Linked DNA regions of Homo sapiens: region 1 is linked to region 2. The links are contacts of gene promoters, found by promoter capture Hi-C in blood cells and fetal thymus (Javierre and others, 2016). All regions are on one chromosome and are shown on one strand. The core of a region is centred on a gene start or on the middle of the fragment in contact, and the rest is flanking DNA. Distances in the headings are between cores, read along the strand shown.

Region 1 (5,449 bases), core at 2,814-5,313, 1.1 Mb after region 2:
CGAACGGGCAAGACTCGAAATTATAAGATATCAAAGAGTTTTACAGATAAGGGGGAAAAAAGGAATATTTCCTGAAAGAAATGTACTGGGTACTCTCTCATCAACAAAATATTACATGACCTCCTAAGTAGATAATTATGCAAACAGCAAACCATGACTTACACTGGCTTTTGTACTAAAGATTACTCCAGTTAATAATGAATAATGAAAATGATTATGCATATTTCTCTGATGTTCTGATAAATACCAGCACACCCTACTTTTTATGAGGCAATGCCATTGTAAAGAAAACACCTGTTTAGTATCTCTGAAAAATAAAAAGAATATCTAATGAAAAAATTGCCATGCTGTTATCATTTTGAGATACTGTTATCAACTCATGCAACTTTACTAAAATCTCATTTTAGACCAAATTTAATTAAGTGCTCTGGAGTAATGAACTAATAATGTTTCGAGATTTCTTTGAGCCCCATGAGACCTCTCACCAGAAAGTTTTAAATACTGGGCCATTAGTGTATCATTTTATGTGTCCACTCTATCTCCCAAGGGAAAAGATAAAACTTTAGGAAGGCACAGTCATGATCAATGTGTTTGTATTTGAATAATCGGTAATACATAAAGAGAGAAAACTTTTTTTAAAAAAGAAGGTTTTAATGAACAATGCTGATAGTTGATACTAGTTTAGAAATATGTTAATCTCCAAAAAACTTCAGGGCTGCACTTACCTCATATGTAATGAATGCTTAATACTGGGGGCGCAAAGCTCAATTCAGGCCATCAAAGAAACATACAAGGTCACATTGGTACACAAAAGGAAAAAGGCAGCTAAGGTCTGTGGAGGTACTGTTAAAAAGAGTCGGAACCTTCTGATATCTTTTTCTGAAGATTATTTTCCTTCTTTTCTTAGTCTTCTTTTTTTTTTCTTAAACAAGATGTCACTCTGTCACTGAGGCTGGAGTGCCGTGACACAATCACAGCCTCGACTTCTCAGGCTCAAACTATCTTCCCACCTCAGTCTCCCAATTAGCTGGGACCACAGGCACACACCACCACACTGACTTTTTTTTTTTTTTTTTAGAGATGGAGTCTCCCTACATTGCCCATGATGATCTGAAACTCCTGGTTTCAAGCAGTCCTCCCACTTCGGCCTCCCGAAGTGCTGGGATTACAGGTGTGAGCCACTGTGCCCAGGAAAGATAATTTTCTATTAGATAAAATCATTGCAATCAAATGTTGATGGTATCAATTTTCCCACTAAATTCTACTTAACCATGGGATAGCATATTTGTACAGTGCTGTATGGTTTTTAAAGCATTGCCTTAAATACTTTATTGATTTTGAAACCAGTATGTGAGAAAGGCAAACAGTTGTGATGATTCTTATTAACTATGGTTAAATGTCCTACCCAAAGTCACAGAGTGAATAAGAGGTGGACATAGAACTGGGGAGACAGGGTTCATTCCACTCCATTCATTCAAGCATTCATTCACGTACTCATTCATCCAACTAATGGAGACTATGGCTCCAAAGATGAACAAGATCTAGCCTCTGCCCTCAAGAAGTCCACGGTTTAGTAAAGAAGCAGAAAGGAAATCACACACCAAGTAAAACATGAGCATGAAAAGTGTAGCAAAGGGATGTATGCAAGGCTTTCAGATGAGGTCAATTCTTAAATCTGGGTTTCAATGGAGAAAGGAATGGCTAGGGAATGAGGGCTAAGGGGAAAGACAAGTGTAGATCATCTAATTTTGTTCAAATACAAAAGTGTATGTGAGTCCTGGCAGAAGCTGAGAGTATGAGGTCAGCAGCAGCCAACTCCTGGCCTTGAATGCCTTACCCTGTGGGCCAAGTTAAGGACAGCCAAGGTGCTTAGGTCCAGAAATATGCTAATCTCCAAAAAGCTTTCTGGGCTGAGCTCGCCTCATATGTAATAAAGCACACTGGTGGCAACTTTCATCTCTTTTAATACTGAGATGTCTTGAAGCAAGAATGACTCAAGCCCCAGGTTTGAATGAGTAAATTGTTTGCTGTAGCCTATGTATGTATACACACATTTTCATACACCCACGTGGATACGGTTTATATCCATAATACTACACATAATATATGTATCCACATAGATAATACAAAACATACACACAACTCTATAAACCTCACATGCAGAGCCATCTGAATAACATGTATGTTTATACTGACCCCTTGAGACATGCTCTGATGGACACAGGTTACTCAGAGAGGTTACCTGTGCAGGACAACCATGTGTCCTAGGTGATTTCAGACAGTCGTTTGCCTGCAGAGTAGGCATTGAACCAGGGCTGGACAAGATGAATTCCAAAGGTGGCCTAGAGCTCCATGGTTTCATGTATCACAAGCTTACTTGCATGAAGTAGTTTCGCCATTCTCAATAAATAAAATTCCCTGACCCTGGTGAAATTATTCCTTTCTGCTATTCTTTTGTACTCAGGCAGAAAATGTATTATTGATTTCTGATTCCACCACAGAAAGTGTGACTTAGAGAAAAGAGCACTGAATGAGGAGTCAGGAAATCTAGATTATTTCCTCAAACCACGCTCCTCGCTGTCCCCTCCCCTTGTTACTGTGTGACCTTGAACAACTTACTTCACGCCTCTGGGCTTCAGTTTCCCAAGTGTTCAATGAAAGGAGTGGCTGAGTGTTCTACAATTCTCTTTCCAGCTCTGAATCTATAAAACAATTCCAGCCCATCCCTCAAGATTTAGTTTATCTCTGAGCTCTAAAAATCAGGGCTAAAACTGGATTCAAAGTACCTATTTTCTAACCAAAGAAGATCCTGCTTCACTCACTTTTAAACCATGCAAATCTTGCATAATTTAAATGATCAGTGCTGTCATTGGTTGCTCTGGTTTAAATTATGCATTGTTGCTATTTGGGGAAAATTTAGACTGGGTCCGGTCTGGAATCACTGGCTGAGAACAATAAGCCCCCAAAGTGAGAAGGATAAAGGCCTCTCTAGACAGGATCTGCTTTTAATGCTTTGAGCCCAGGGTTTACAAAAAGAGCATTGACTGTGTACATTAAAGAGCCACCGAAACAGCGAGGGACTGGTAAGTCTGCAGCAAATTCTCCCAGAAGCCACTGACCTTGGCTGCATTTCAGGGGTCAGGCATTCCCCAGGAGGGGCTCAGCAGGCAGACTTTACCAAGGGCTTAGGAACAAATGAGACATCTCATCTAGATGAGGCCACCTCTCCAAATGTGGCAAGGTGGAGATGATCTGCCCTCTGATTTGTGGAGATTACCTATGTGGCCTTTGGACCCACTCCAGCAGACACACCTCACCCACAAGACTGGTCAAAGACCCTGGCCCTCCAGGATATAACTGTCTCCACATCTGCATCTAAGTCTTCTAGCCAGCAGTTCCTGGTCCCCAAGCTAGCTGTTGCCCTCTCTGTTTCCACACCTCCCAGCAGGCAGAAAAACAGAAGCAGAGCCCTAAGCTGATAGCCCAGGCCACAAAGAGCAATTTCAGTGAATTGTGCAAAGATATATTTTCAAAATACAGATCACAAGAAAGCACATCCCAAGTGTGAACCGCAGTCGTCCGCCCAGTGGGCCCTCACCGGTTGCTCCCCTGCCTGCAGGCTCCGTGCTTGGTATCTCAGAAAACCTTCCCGAGGAAAAAGCCCATAAGGGACAAGTCCCGGCCCAACTTAAAATCACATCAGACTGCTTTCCAGTAGAGGAGCAAGGTCGAGATTCCGGCCCAGGGAAATCACCGCAAGCCCTGCGCATTGTTCAGACCCCTTCCCCCTTTGCCACTTCCCGCCCCCCACCCCGACCTCCGACCGATTCGCAGCACCCCACCCCCAGTCGGGGCCATCCATCCACCTGATTAACTCGCCGGCAGCAACTCCCAGCGTAGAAAGTAGGGCAAATGAACACACACAGTCGGTAAAGCAGGAAGCCACAGACCTGGCCAATGCACCCACCCTGTTACCAACCCCACCCCGCTGCGCAGGGGGCAGCCGGTTCTTGATGTGGCATTTCCACTCCAGGGAAATAGACAGCTTCCTGTAATAATGCATGAATGAGCTTTGGCTGCCCAACTATCAGAACAGCCCATTTCAAACGGCATCTCTGTTTCTTCTCAACTCCTTACTTGCCTTGCTGAAACCTCATCTCTTAGCCCAACAGATTAAGACGAAGAGAGAAAGACTTATTCAAAGAGATGTGGAGGAAAAGGTTTAATTAAGGAGACCAAAGAGAAAGTACCACTTTGATCACAAAGGTAGCACTTTAATATATCAGTGCAGATAGCGGCAATGTCAGAAGTACTAGGAATCCAGGTAAATGGCCCCAAGATTCAGCATCAATCTAACAATGTATTCCTCAGGAGGGCGTGTGAACTTCCATGCTTCATCCATCCTGGTGTCTCCCTGTAGAGAGCCACCATGAATTCCTTCTCATCCACCCTCCATACATCAAGTATATGCACTCGCTTTCTTTTTAATTTTATTTTTGGTTCGGGAGAGGAAGAAGCAGTCCTTAAATTGGTGTCCAATCCTTCTCAGACACCCGCTGCTGCCACCATCCCCACCCCTCACCCCCTTCCAGGCAGGCAGCATCTAATTAAAATGGCAAGAAAGCTCTGCCCCCTTCCCCAAAGGAGTGTGTTGGGATCGGGAGTTGGGGGTGGGGAAGCGTCGAAGCAGCACTTGGATTCCTGGTATTCTGATCTCAAAACAACAGCAAAATGGATTCTATATCAGTGATGTCTTAGTCAATACAATGAAACGGCGTCTGAGGTAATTCACGTGAAGGTAAACGCAAACCAGTGGGGCTGGGGGGAGGGAGGTGCTCTACAAAGGACTGGCCACAGACACGGGGAAAACACACACAGACACACACACACACACACTCGCACACACTCCAGGGAGTTCCGGTCTGATTGAGGAAAAGCAGAAAACACATCCCTTTCACCTGCTTAAGTTCAGCCATAAAACTGAAACGTTACAGCCACAAAGTCAGAAAGAACAGGCAGGGCTGAGTTAAAGCCATAAATAAAGGTGAGTGGCAGACTGGCATTTAAGGGAGCGCTGAGAGGGCGCCCGGGCGCGGGAGGTAGAAAAGGGGGAGGGGGAGGCAGTTGCCATCTACAAGACCAGCATAGCAATAACTGCCCCCTTGGAGCGGCAGGTTCGGCTTCGCGGGGACAGCCAGCCTCACAATGTCATCTTGCAGGTAGCTGGAAAACGTGAGGGGCCAGTGCCTTTATTCACGCTGGCATTCTTTTTGCAGAAGGGACAGTCGGGTCTCGCGCCTTGGCACCAGACAACTGCCCGGGGCGTGTACACACACACACACACACACACACACACGCACACACGCCTTTCATTTTAATGCTCTTACACCGGTATAAGATGAAACTGGCATAAGCTCTACGAGCCCTCGGGAGAGCCTAAGCCACGGCC
Region 2 (5,194 bases), core at 2,596-5,095:
TATAAAAGTAGAAATAGGGACCTTGTAGATCCAGTACTGACTTGGCAGATAAGAGGAGAAAGCAGTCCAGAGGAGAAACCCTACTCAACGAGGGGAAGATACTGTGCATTGGCAGTAACAGTAACACAAAACAAGTATGGAGGAATAAAGTGTAAAGGGAAGAGGACAGGTACGAAAATGATTAAAGTGCTGTGAAGAAGTTATAGATCAGACCGGGTGCTGTGGCTCACGCTTGTAATCCCAGCACTTTGGGAGGCCAAGTCGGGCAGATCACCTGAGGTCTGGAGTTCGAGACCAGCCTGGCCAACATGGTGAAACCCCCTCTCTACAAAAATACAAAAAATGAGCCAGACGTGGTGGTGCGCGCCTGTAGTTCCAGCCACTTGGGAGCTAGCACCACTGCACTTCAGACTGGGTGAGAGAGCCAGACTCCATCTCAAAAGAAGAAAAAAAAAAGTTAAAGATCATAATTCCGAAAAAAAGAAATTAACGAAAAGCTACAGGAAAAAAATGAGATGGAAAAGGAAATGGTTGACATTCTTTTGTGAAACTGACCTCCTAGCATTTGACTTGCTGCTAAACAAACAAAACAAAACCTTTTAAACACATTTTTTTAAATCGAGGCTCAAGGAAGGAGGACTTTGGCAGAAGGACCATCAGAGACCATAACTGGTTTCTTTTCTTTGGAAAAGAGCAGAAGGTGTAAATGCAAACACAAGCCAGTGTTTGCATGCTCAATTAACATTTGAATTTCTTCCCCCTCCTTCATAAAAATAAAAATAATTTATGTTGAATTTTTGCATCTTACCCTATCCTTTCTCATTTCCATCTTCTTTGTAATTAATATTAGTGGGTCATTATCAACAGATCAGTAAATGGAGACAAAAGAAAAGCATTTGCCTCAAACTATTTATCAGGTCACAGAACAGAGCTGGCCTTCGAGTTTGTAACCTCTCCATTCTTGGTCTCTGTTATCAGACAGCCATAATTAACGAAGAAGACATTCTAGACTACCTAGTACCAGTTAATTTGGATCTTGTATCTGTACTATTTAATGGAAGAAGATGAAACAATAGGTAGTCCCCACCCCCAATCATTTGAAATTCTCATGCGCAGACAAGCACACTCTCATGGTGGTCTTGCTCAACTCCTGCTGGCAGCCAAGAAGGTGAGGTGGGAGGTCATGCAAAATCCACCTAATAACTACATAACTATTTGTTGACCAATCCTTTAATTGACTTTTCGACACTGATGAAGACCATGAGCCTGTGGAATTACAAAATTCATTACCTCGCAGTGCTTATTTTTTCTAAGGCCTGCATTTTCTGTGTCTGTGCAATTCTGTATTTGGAATAAAGAACCATTATCATTTGTGTTCAATGTCGTATGATACATACAATCAATTTTACTGATAACTTCTGAAAATCCTTAAGTAGGCCTGCAAAAATGTGCCTTCCTGTGAGCCTCCCCATCTGCCTCAGATCTATGTATAAATGGACCCCGTTCAGTTTCACTTGCTTTCAAACGCGTACCTTTGAGGTTTGGGAATTCAAGGACAAAATGATTTTAATTTGATGCATTTTGTACTTTGACCAATAAGGGAAAAATAAATGCCCTCAAATTTGATTGGTTCTAGTCATATTTGCCGGTCACTATTTGTCAAACCATTGCACTTAAAATCACAGGCATGAAAGATCTCTCAAAAACAGATTTCTGAGGAATGCAAATCAACAGAACGGGGAGGCGGATTAATGTGTTTGATTTCTCAAAAGTCTATTTACTGTCCAATTTATCTTCGTCCTTGGACATGCTAGCAAGTAATTATTCTTATGGCTGGTAAAATGACTGCTAAACATTTATTAATAATTGCAGTTTTGGAATTACTTTTTTATTAACCAGTCATGTTGGTTTCTAAAAATTGTTACTTCTGGCTAGACACAGGAGCCAGGTGCTGAGAGTTGACCTGGTGCCAAGTTTCAGGACTGTCCAGTCTTCACATCAGATCTTCAGCTAGGCCTTCTGAATATTCTCACAGTTAGAAAATCTATCCCCCTAGACTCGCAGATGCTGTTTTTCCCCCACTGGCTCTGCACAGAACATCATTATCTTTGCCACGCTTCTGTCTCTATGGCAATAACAGATGGAAAGTGCTGTGGAATTATTCATGTTCAGGAAAGGAGGCAGTCAAGAAGGAAGAAAAGGTGGGGGGGCGGGGTGGAGAGGGGGCACGACCTGGGAGCTCGGCGGTGGAGGCCTAAGGAAGGGAACTTGGGTGGGGGTGCGGGGAGTGGTGGGGATTGAGAGGCTTGTGAGCCTTTCGGAGGCCTGTTGTGAGGAAAAAAAAAATAAAAAGTACGAGCACAAGAGTATTTCCAGCCGGCCGACTGCAAATGTGGGCCCCCACAGGAACAACCCGAAGCAGTAAAACTAGAAGAAATTGGACGAAAATGGGGGGGAAAAAAGGGACAAAGCTCGAGTCTCCTGAATTTTGTGCACTGCTACTCGGTGGACTATTTCAGTTCCTGATCTTGTGGTGGGGTGGAGAAAAGGGGATTTCTTGGTGTTTCGAAATGTGACGGAGCAGCTCTGCAGAGTTCAATATGCTAATCGGCTACCCTGGGAACCAGGAAGACCACCCTACACGCCTCAGAGGGTCACAGCCGGAAAGCTCTTGAGTCCTATCTTCCCTACCTCGTCTCGTCCCTCTCCAAAAAAACACACACACAAAAAAACACCCTCAGTAAACACTGTAAAAACCTTTAATTTATAGCTCCCTTCTGGAACCGAGAGAGCAGCCTGGTGGGGTGGAGGCAGGAGGCTGGGGAGTAGGGACAGAAATGTTTGCTCTCGGTTTTGCCGGAACTTTGGCCACCCCTCCCGCCCGGCCCGATGGCGGATGGAGGTCAGCCAGGGGAAGGCGTCTGGGTGGAGGCCGCCCGGGCGAGGCCGGGGCCGCCGGGGCGGGGCGGAGCGCCGGCAGCTGGCTGGGCGGCCCTCGGGCAGGAGGCCCCGCGGGGGCGAGGGGCAGCCCAGGAGGGAGGTCCCGCGGGGGCGGGGAGCAGAGCCGGCCCCGGGGGCCCTGCAGGGCGGCCGCCGCCCGGCTGCCTCCGGGGCGGGGCGGCCCAGCTGCGGCCCCGCAGGGGGAGGGTCGCCCGTGCCTGACCTCGGGCGGCGGCACTCTGCCGGGCGGGCACTGCCTCCGCCCTGCCGGCTGCTGGGGTCGCGCACAGTGCACCGCGCGGCTGCCCTGCCCCCTCTTCCCCGCTGCGCGGCGTCCGAGCGGCCAGGGCGCCCCCGCGTCTGGCCCATCACCACAGAGCGGCGGGTGGGGCGGGGGCGGGGCGGTGGCCCCAGACAGCCGGCTGGGCGACTAGAGGAAGGAAGGAGGGAGGGCGGCGGTGAGGGTGGGGTGGGGAGGGAACATCCTGTCTGCGCCGGGTGCACCGCAGACAGCGCCGCGCGCCAGCTTCCCAGACGGCGCGCGGGGCCAGAAGCGCCGGGCGCGCGCCTGGGGGGAGGGGCACGCGCGCGAGACGACGGGGCCAGGGGGGCGCTCTGAGGAGCCACAATAGGCCAGACGGCACGCGCGTCCACGAGGGGGCCGGGAGCCGCGAAGTGGCGGCGGCGGCGACGACGCCGGCGGGCCCGCGCGCGCGGCGCCGCCGCTGGCTCCGTTCCCTTCCCCTCCCCCTCCCCGCCGCCCTCGCTCTCCCCCGGGCGGCCGGAGACGGCGGCGGCGTCTGCGGGAAGCTGTGTGTCTCCGCAGTGACGTGGGCGGGCCGAGGACTCGGTGACGTCAGAGGGCTGTGTGTAGCGATGTGTGTGGGGTTCGGAGCCGCGCCGGCACAGCCGAAGGGAGCGGGCGAGCGGCGACGGCGGCGGCGGCGGGCACAGGTGCGGCTCCGGCTTACGGCGGCGACGCGGCGGAGGCGGCGGGAGGCCAGAGGCGCTCACCCTCCTAGGAGCCCGACGGCGGCGACAGGGGCGGTGGGGAATTCACAAAGCTCGTCGAGCTTACCCGGGCACCGAGGCCCGAGTAGGGGGTTTGGATGCGCGGGTCCCGGGTGGGGTCGGGGCCAGAGGGGGTCGCTAGGCGGGTGTTCCACGGCTGATCACGCTTCGTTGGCCCCAGGCGGTGGGCGCCGGCAGGGCAGGGCGCTGTAGTTGACGGGAGCCGCGGGGACCCCGGAGACCCGGACGCCCGTCACCGCCCCCCTCCCCCAGTCCAGCAGCGCTCCGCGGGGATGCCCTGGTCTCGACCCGGTCCGTCAGCCCCCGGCGGCGCAGGGATCCGCGCCCGGCGCCTAAACTGCCCTGGTGTCCTCTTCGTTCTGGCCCGGGGCTGGCGCGGGGAGGTGCAGCATTAGGGGCGCTGAGGTGACACCCGAGAACTTCCCAGGGAGAGGGTGCGCGGGGGGGTGGATTTCCACAGTCCTTCCCGCGGCCCCCGCGGGGGGGCGGTGTTGGGAGGGCACTTGGGGTTATCCCAGGCTCGCCGGTGGGGGTGGGGGGACTCCTCCCTTTACTTCCCTCCACCCCCTTGCACACCCACCCCCAGGCTTCCCGTGTCCCTTGTTCTCCCTCTCTCCGGGTTAGAGATAGGTGGGTGGCTTTGAGTGGGCGGAGGACTTCAGGGTTTTAGGGGCTCCCCCATTCTAGGTCATGCCTCTTGCTCTCTTCCTTGGCCTGTGTTGAGTAAGGTGTGTTCCTGTGGTGGACGAAAGTCTGTACGATGGTTGGTGGCATTGGTCCTTAATCCTTTGGGTCTGTTTTAAGGTAAAGTGCTGAGAGTTTGGGAAGCAAAAATTTCTATTTATTGGATTTCTTTTGGCTTTTCTCTCAAGAAGGAAGTGGAAAAAGAGTCTTTTCTTTTTCCCTCTTCCTCCATTTGCATTCTTTGTGAGGTTTGTCTGCCTTGTGCTTTTTGTCCCGGATTAGTCTTGTTGAAGGATGGAGATTCCCAGGCGTGGAGTCTATAGCTTTTGGCTTCCATTAAGTAAAATCGCTAACCTTTTTTTAAGAGAAAGTTAATTTTTGCCTGCAGTCATTCCAGAAAAATAGTGTACACGGACTAGCTGAATTAATCCACTTAAAATTGTAACTTAGTTACATATGGTAGATATGTTAACTCCTATCTGATTTTTTTGGATGAAACTGTTGTTTTGTTTTTAAATAGGAGATGAAGTAATGGATT

The links. Contacts are between HindIII fragments. The CHiCAGO score rates a contact against its expected background, and 5 or more counts as called.
Region 1: a contact is called between a fragment that was not itself captured here and the fragment with the promoter of SKIL in region 2, in 1 of 17 cell types (fetal thymus). The highest score is 5.7, in fetal thymus.

What each region holds. Positions count from the first base shown.
Region 1 is chr3:171,454,348-171,459,796 of GRCh38, forward strand. All of the region lies in intron 1 of TNIK (TRAF2 and NCK interacting kinase), which reads right to left. LOC124906303 (a long non-coding RNA gene) reads right to left here and starts at 3,824. Exons shown (of 2, transcript XR_007096168.1): 1 at 3,599-3,824. LOC102724479 (a long non-coding RNA gene) reads left to right here and starts at 4,871. Exons shown (of 3, transcript NR_189068.1): 1 at 4,871-5,044. The HindIII fragment of the contact is 3,387 bases long and covers 2,371-5,449 here.
Region 2 is chr3:170,353,870-170,359,063 of GRCh38, forward strand. SKIL (SKI like proto-oncogene) reads left to right here and starts at 3,846. Exons shown (of 7, transcript NM_005414.5): 1 at 3,846-3,894. RefSeq lists an enhancer at 2,419-2,518 and silencers at 2,799-3,698, 3,859-4,088, 4,139-4,268, 4,359-4,428. The HindIII fragment of the contact is 9,771 bases long and covers 1-5,194 here.